Regions from separate parts of the Homo sapiens genome. Here regions 2 and 3 are each linked to region 1. Evidence: promoter capture Hi-C in 16 types of primary human blood cells and fetal thymus (Javierre and others, 2016). All regions are on one chromosome and are shown on one strand. Each heading gives the region's core, a stretch centred on a gene start or on the middle of the fragment in contact. The rest is flanking DNA. Distances are from core to core; before and after follow the strand shown.

Region 1 (2,700 bases), core at 139-2,638:
GTCTGCTACCCACCCACCAGCATCCAAGAGTTATGCAGATGTTTATGGCTGAAAAAAAAAAATCCCAGTTATGCATCCTTGTATTTTTAAATACTGACTGTAAGTGATTCAAGTATAATCCTTTGTAAAATGCTTTTCTCTTTGACACATTGAAGGGAGTTGAGAGAGGAAAACCCGGCGTGGATTCCCCCTCCCTGGCCCCTCTCTCACCCACCACCTTCGCCCCAATTCTGCCAGCGTTGGGGCCCCTGGAAATCCCTGGGAACCTGCACCCAGGCAGGGAAGGCGTCCGTGCTGGCCCAGGCTCGACCCAACATCAGTTGGAGTTGGGTTTTAGTTCTCGGCGCTGGAAACTGTTTGGGAAGAAAGGCGCTCTCTCTAAGGTTCACTCTCTCACCTTTGCTCAAGGGAGCCAGGTCATGAGAATTCAGAATTTTAGACGCTTAGATTTGGCTGCAGCCGAATTTGGGTTCCTTCCACCCTGGAGAGGTCAGGGATCCCTGAGGGTTCTGCTCCCTAGCTGCGATTGGAAGGTGAACAGCCTCAGGGTGAAGGCCTAACAGATACGAATTTGTGGGGGAAAGAGGGAAGAGAGTCCAGGGAGAAAGAGGAGGCCCCCAGACTCGTCCCCAGTCGCCCCTCCTCGCTGCTGATACTCGCCTGTCCCTTCCCACCCAGTAAATGCTCTAGGGAAGGCCGCGCGCCTATGGCAGAGCTTTGTCTGTAAGGAGGCTTTTTCCCATTCCAGAGTTTAAAACGGAGAGGAGAGCGGTTGGGGGACGCTACAAACAAGAGAGACACAGTCGGGCTCAGGGTGAAGATAGACAGCGCAATGCCTTGGGCCGCAAGAGAAAAGCGAACTCCCAGACGGCAGATGTTTGCTTGGGGCGGTCACCCTGGCCCCCCGACGCCCGTCCGGCCTAGAGAGGACGGCAATTGAGCGCCAGGGAGGTCAAGGCGGTGTCCTGGGAGCCCAATATCGGCTTTGAAAAGTGCCGAGTGAGTCTGAACGTGAGCCTCGAGGCCTCGCCTCCAGGGAGCGAGGTCCTCGGGTTGGTGGAAGGGGCGCACGCCACCCAGATGGCATTCACAGGCCTGGCATCCCAATAAGCTAGAACTTCGGCCAACACTAAAGGGTCAAAGGAGGAGCTGCAGGAAGAGGATAGCGGACTTAGAAAATTGGTAACTTAAAAAAAGAAAGAAAGAAAAGGAAAATTGGCTCTGGTGCGTGCCCGCTGCCCCCACCCCCGCCTGCCCCTCTGGAATCCAGTCCGGGCTTTGCGCCGCGCCCACAGGCCGACGCAGCCCGGCCTCTGGCGAGAGCCAATCAGAGGGCGCCTCTCAGCACGTGGAGGAGAGAGACTCCAGAGCTCAGCGCCCGCTGCTCACTACACTTGTTACCGCTTGTCCTGAGCGCGGAGAGGGCGAGCTCGGGCCGCGGGCAGGGCGGGAGCCGGCAGCCGGCAACCAAGGGAGGCAGAAAGGCACAAAGATCGCAATAATATCCGTTATAACCCGCTATCTAACCCCACCCCCAACACACACCCATCCATCCCACCCTCCGGGAGAGGCAGCCGGCGATCCGCTCTCTGCGCCCTGGGAAAAAGCCCCAGCCATGAGCAATCAGTACCAGGAGGAGGGCTGCTCCGAGAGGCCCGAGTGCAAAAGTAAATCTCCAACTTTGCTCTCCTCCTACTGCATCGACAGCATCCTGGGCCGGAGGAGCCCGTGCAAAATGCGGTTGCTGGGAGCCGCGCAGAGCTTGCCTGCTCCGCTGACCAGCCGCGCCGACCCGGAAAAGGCCGTGCAAGGTAAGGATGCTCCCGTCAGGCACTTACTAAGGGCATTGGGCCCTGATTTGGATGTTTGGTGTTCGGGGGCCAGTGGCCTGGAATTGTCAATTTGGAGAGGAAGGAAGGAGAGGGCATAACTCTGAGGCCTGCTGCCTCAAAGAGCGTTAAACATCTAGCCAGGGCTGTCTCTCCCTCCCTCCCTCCCTGCTTCCAGAAAAAGGCCCGTTTTCGCTTAGGGAGCCTTTAGCTTTTCGGTGTTGATCGTTAGGTTGTTTAAATGCCCCTTTTGGTGGCCTTGGGTGTGCTCTGAAGAGCGGCGACAGGTCAGAAACAGTAGATGGCCGGTGGACCCTTGTAGCACCAACTTGATGAAGACAAGAAGCCCAAAAGCTGGTGAATCGGGGTCTCCAGGCTGAGTGAGCCTTGGCCTTTCCTCTTTGGAAGATTTCTGTATATGCAATGTTTTGGTTTTATTTTTTTAATTGCAGATTACTTGTGACCTTTTAAACCCAAGCTTTGCAGAAAACATCTTCCTGGGATTCTCCAAATGCTCCTTAATGTATTTAAAATGTATGAAATGTGTGACTTCTGGATGCTAATTTTTTCTCTGCTATTTTATTTTTTAAAATAGACGAGCTGTTTAAAATATTTTATTTTTTTCTGAAATTAAAAATTCCAGAACAAATGTCCTTTTACCCCGAACCTGTTATCCTCAAGTTTCGCCTCGAGCTTGCTGCAGAGGTGTCGCAGGGAAAGGAAAGAACTGTTGGTTTCTTTTAAAATCCAAAAACCAGCGGTCCGGCCATAGCGCAATTTGGATGGCAGGAGCAGACGGTTGAGAAGGGGGCATTTAAATAAAACTGACTTTTTTCTTTTCTTTTTTTAGCCTGCAGTGGCACCTATGCCA
Region 2 (2,700 bases), core at 153-2,652, 280 kb after region 1:
CTCCACAGGGACATGCTTGTGCATCTGGACACATTTAGAGCATATGAATCAGAGTACCTATCAAAAACATTACTTTCCTATATAATCCCTGGTAGACTTCACTGTTTATGTATTTACTGGGCAAAGAAATCCCAAGGATTGTATAAAATAATCCCAAATGGTAAGATGAGAACTGATAAATAAGAAACTAGACTAAAAACAAACATATTTAAGAATTATAAGTGGCTGGGCGCAGTGGCTCACACCTGTAATCCCAGCACTTTGGGAGGCTGAGGCGGGTGAATCACTTGAGGTCAGGAGCTTGAGACCATCCTGGTCAATATGGTGAAACCCTGTCTCTACTAAAAATACAAAAATTAGCTGGGCGTGGTGCCACGAGCCTGTAATCCCAGATACTCAGGAGGCTGAGGCACGAGAATCCCTTGAACTAGGGAGTGGAGGCTGCAGTGAGCCAATATCACGCCAATGCACTCCAGCCTGGGCAACAAAGCGGGACTCCGTCTCAAAAAAAAAGTCGGTTTGACTCTAATGGAATTTTCCTAGGTCATTTTACCTGGTTAGGTAATTCACGGCACTTCACAAATAATAGCCTAATCTAACAGTACCTCCCAACTACTGGACTTCTCAAGCCAATTAAATAAAATAAGTAGAACCTGACAAGGTTGCTTACTTTTGTCAGATGAAGACATTAAAAAACAAAACAAACCTAAAAACGTATCAATATCATCACTTCGTAAAAGAAACAACATACAATCCATAAAAGAAAATTCTTTTAATTGAATACATTTACCTTTGTGAAAAATTCACTACATTATACTACTTCCCACTCCTCCCCATTTTATTAAGGACCCATGAAAACTTCTTCATGGAGCACGCTGGAATTTAGAGATCACTGATCCATTTTGGCCAACCCCATGTCAACTTTGTCAATACATGGCTCTTTAACGTCCACAGTATTCCCAACTTCATTTAGCTTCCCTCAAGCTGGGGAGGGACTCTACCCAACACCTTCCCAAAACAGGAATCATATGATCATGCATTTTAGAGAAGCTTCTAATTAAGCTATTGGAGGGGGGTTTGAGCCTATCCAACCACCAATACAGTACAGAATCCCATTATTTTCAGGTAGTAAAACATTTAAACATTGTTAAATAATGCTTCTAGGTGTATGTCTAATACATTTTAATGGGTCGATGTCATAGTCCAATCTGGCAGGAATGAATCTAATAAAATATAAAACACCTTTTTTCTACTAGTCCATACCACCCCCCTTTTCTTTCTCGCTCCAAACAAACAGGTGCTTCATATAATGAGCACTTTACCTTTTTCTCAATGACTTCTTTGAAAGCATATGGAAAAATACAGTCCTTTGGTTTAGACACAACTGTAAAAAGGAAAAAAAATAAAGATTCCAACACCCATCTTAGTCTAATTTCAGGTAATCATATAGTACATGTTTCCAAACGAAACTGTCTTAAATATATTCCCCCCAACCCTAAAGAATTAGGAGGGTCATCAAATACTTCCACTGGTCATGTTGATGACCTCAAAAGAATGGTCAAGCACAGAACCCTAAGTCCCTGCAGTTGTTAAAACTGCTTTGATGAAACATTTGCTATCTATCCACTGAAGCCAGAATGGAAGATTTTAGCAGTCTTCCTCAAAGGAAATCCCACCACCACCAATGCCGCAAGCAACATACAGCGGAGAAACTCAGTTCAGCCTTCTGAAAAGGTAAAATTGACCAAAGCTTCCCCTATTACACACTGTAAGTTCCTTACCATACACAACAGCTGTTCACATAGTGACGTACATAGAGGAAGTGAATAAATGCGTGTTGAAATGAACTCATGATTGCTCTCTTCTACATATTTTCCAGGCTATTCTCATCACCATTTTGTTCCATGTGTTCCACCCACTTAAGGGGGAAAACTTCACAACAATCATATCTCATACTCCCTTCTCTGCATGTTTTAGTCCTACTTTCCTAACACCCAAGAAAACCAGACGAGAGGCTCGCCAAGTTAATCTCTGCTTCTGGGCTGAAAAAGATCCCAGGAAATATAATAGGTCAATGGTATTATTCCCTTTTTTAAAAAACAGCAAAATGCTTAGGTAACTGGCCAAGCTCTCAACATGGAATATATCAGAATCCTCCTTGGAGACTGACTCATAAAACACATATGCAGAACTTGGTGGAATTGTTTCATCCATTGAATTTTATGCATAGCACAACCCAACTCCAATTCTTATTACTATAACTCCTCCCAAATAGGTAAATATTTATTCCTTGGCATCTTGCCTCATCACACAGAAAACTTTGATCAAGCTTCTATGATAGGCTATTAGAATGACATCAGAAAATAAAGTCTAATTTTGACCCAGGAAAAAACTACTCAACCTCAGTAGAGCAACCATTGAAACAAAAAAAAGATGTCAAATAGACTCCAGACTTCTCCTAGAAAAAAAAAAATGAACCAGCTGAATAGGAGGCAACCAACCCAATAAAACTTAGTTTCCATGGCAAAAAAAAAAAAAACAAAAAAAAACAAAACCCTCTTTAACAATATGCACTATTCTTGAAAACAATTTTTGAAAAACAAGTTACTGATCCAATAGCTGGAGAAAAAATAAGGAAATTCAAATCAAGCTGTTAGTAAGCCAGCTTAAAAAAAAATACATACCACAGAAGTGTGACTG
Region 3 (2,700 bases), core at 51-2,550, 320 kb after region 1:
CAGACACTAGCTTACAGCAGTCTTTCAGGTAACAATCCTTCAGTCTGCTCTAAAGGAAAAATTCCAGTCACAAGTCCCCAGCAACTACTTAATGAACACCATGACCTAAGAGGAGTCTCAAGATTGCACAGTATCCTCCAAAGTGATTTCCTGATGTTCATAGATGACGTAGTTTTTAGGATGAAGAAAGGGCTTAGTGGCAAATCACTGATAGAGGCCTGCAAAGACTGTTCGTTCACATACTTACACCCAACATCCTATCTGTAATCCAGGCAGGTCGACTCTCCAAAATAGTCTTAAAAAACGAACGGCTAGAACAAATTGAAATCTGTGACTCACAACTAGGTGAATGCAAAGGAAGCTGATTAGGAAGCGAGTTCTCATTAATGGTGATGTATCTGAATGACAGGAGAGGTGACGCTTGAGCTAACAAAGTGAAGCATCTGATTTTAAGTTAGAAGTTAACTGAAGTCACGCTTTAGTTGAACACTTAAAAAATCAGACAAATCTATTTGCATTTTTGTATTCTATTTTTGGAAATAAAAGACACCCCTGACAAACGGAGTGATATACAGGGGATCCGAAATGCCCTAAATTGATGCCATTTTTTTGAAACTTCACCAGGAATGACTAGATTGTGAACAGGATTTCTACGCAGCACTTGAAGAACTTTCCAAAGAATCTGAAAGAAAAATTGTTAATGCATAAAGTAGAAACCCATTACCTAAAAATACAAAACGCGTTATTCCCCGATGACAGCACTTAGAGCTTTCTTTCCTGCTTAGTTACAATGTATAAAATTTTCCTGGAAGTTCCTACAAAAAGGGACACAGATCTGTTCTGTTCAAGCCTTCAAGTGGATACTTAGGGAGATCGCAGTGAAATACTTTCGGCCCCACGGGGCCAGTCTCAATAAAGTTATACCCAGCACGTGGGTGCAACTCACCAAAAGAAATAGAAACGCAATCGACTGTGGAGACTCTCAGTGGCAGAGGTGAGACAGCCTCCCAAACAAAAATCCCTCCAGGCTCTGGTCCTCCAAGAGCAAACCGCGCCTAAAGGAAGCCCGGTCCGACGCCAGAAGGGCCCCCGCCGGGGACGACCAAGGTCTGCGCCCAAACAAACCCGGGTGTGCGCCTCCCTCAGAACCCCCACCACCGGCAATCATGCCACTGTCCCAACCCGGAGCCCCGCGCGCGGAATTGTCCCTCACCACTCGCCCCTATCTCACAGTCGTCGCCGTGCACAGGTGCCATGGTCCCGAATCTCCCGATTCCGCGCCAACCAGCCCAAAACTGGCGCGGGGGCCGAGACAGGCGCCAGCCTGAAAGCCAATCAGCGGCTCGGGAGGCTGCGGACTTCCGGCCGGAAGGCCACTGACGTGCCGCGCCGCGCCGCGCTCCGCCCCCGGCCTTCCCGCGGACGCGCGTTTGGCGCCCTGTGATGACCCCTTAGGGAAAAGCTAGAGCTGAGGGGAAGCCGGAGGAGAGCAGGAGAAAGAAGCGGTCGGGCGCTGGAAAGGAGCCGCCTGGAGACTGCGCAAGCGCACGCATGCTGATGGGAAAAGATTTGGGCGCGTGGGAGAAAGGGCGCTCTGGTTCTCAGAGCCCATTTTCCCGGAAAGGAGGCGCGGGCGGGCAGGAGAGTGGGCGTGGTTGGATCGTTTTCCCCAGAGCCGGGAAAGCGACTGCCTCCTGCTGCGCGCCCTGAATTTTGCCTGATAGTTTGCTTCTCAGCAGTCTGGATACAGTGGCTGTGTGATTAACAACTTAAAGATATATGCTCCGTCTTAACCAAATAACCAGAAGTAGCATTACCAATAAATGGCCATCTGATCTCATATGCCTCCTGATGTAATGCGTATGAAAAAGGAAAAACTTCGCCTATATGGTCTTCTTGCAAAAAATGTCTAACCTGAATCTAACCATGAAGAAACAATCAGATGTATTCAAAATGTAGGACAATCTACAAAACACCTGACGTGAACTCCAAAATTTCAATGTTATGAAAAACAAAAAGGGTATTCAATTTTTGTGTATGATACAATGGCTGTAATGTGTACATCTCATGTTATCTCTTTCCAAAAAGGTATAACATTTTTATTAAATAATGCCTGCCACACATTTGTATTTTTTCCTACATTATTGCCCACATGCTTATTGATCCCTTCTTCATGTGACAACAATTTTGTAATATTTTCTCCAAAGAGGATATAAAGATAATTCAATCTGTCTTCTAGCATGGTTGATCAATACTTGTTTCTTAATTTCTGATTGTTTAGAAAATGTCTTTCAGCTTCATAATCATTTAATATCATGTTATGTGATCCATATGTTGTGATACATAACATGTAGTAATTTACACTTAGACATAACTTCCTATTTAAAGTACTACGACAGATTTATTCCTACACTTCCCTTTTAAAAACTGATGGAAGTTTTATAGTTTTATTATCAAGCTTTTTCCAACCAGGAGAGAACCATGTTGGCTAGTCATTAATAAGAACCAAATCCTTACCTTAACAATTTCACAGCTGATTACTTCCCACATGCCCGGGTATAACTCTAGGCATTTCAAACCTCTTTTCTCTTTCACTACTGCTGTGGTCTGAATGTTTCTCTCCACATAAAATGTATGCGTTGAAACCTAATCACCAGTGTGGTGGTGTTAGGAGGTAGGGCCTCTGGGAGGTGATTAGGT

Evidence for each region. Contacts are between HindIII fragments. The CHiCAGO score rates a contact against its expected background, and 5 or more counts as called.
Region 2: a contact is called between a fragment that was not itself captured here and the fragment with the promoter of ARX in region 1, in 1 of 17 cell types (M2 macrophages). The highest score is 5.8, in M2 macrophages.
Region 3: the fragment with the promoter of POLA1 here is called in contact with the fragment with the promoter of ARX in region 1 in 2 of 17 cell types (fetal thymus and monocytes); the score reaches 5.5 in fetal thymus.

What each region holds. Positions count from the first base shown.
Region 1 is chrX:25,014,653-25,017,352 of GRCh38, reverse strand. ARX (aristaless related homeobox) reads left to right here and starts at 1,388. Exons shown (of 5, transcript NM_139058.3): 1 at 1,388-1,811. The coding sequence starts at 1,616. The HindIII fragment of the contact is 5,488 bases long and covers 1-2,309 here.
Region 2 is chrX:24,732,439-24,735,138 of GRCh38, reverse strand. POLA1 (DNA polymerase alpha 1, catalytic subunit) reads right to left here. Exons shown (of 37, transcript NM_001330360.2): 16 at 2,685-2,700; 17 at 1,323-1,384. Among named protein-coding and RNA genes, the nearest start is that of POLA1, 40 kb to the right of the region's middle. The HindIII fragment of the contact is 700 bases long and covers 1,053-1,752 here.
Region 3 is chrX:24,692,518-24,695,217 of GRCh38, reverse strand. It overlaps POLA1 (DNA polymerase alpha 1, catalytic subunit), which reads right to left and starts at 1,300. Exons shown (of 37, transcript NM_001330360.2): 1 at 1,214-1,300. The coding sequence starts at 1,256. RefSeq lists an enhancer at 1,039-1,128 and a silencer at 1,319-1,478. The HindIII fragment of the contact is 2,747 bases long and covers 1-2,460 here.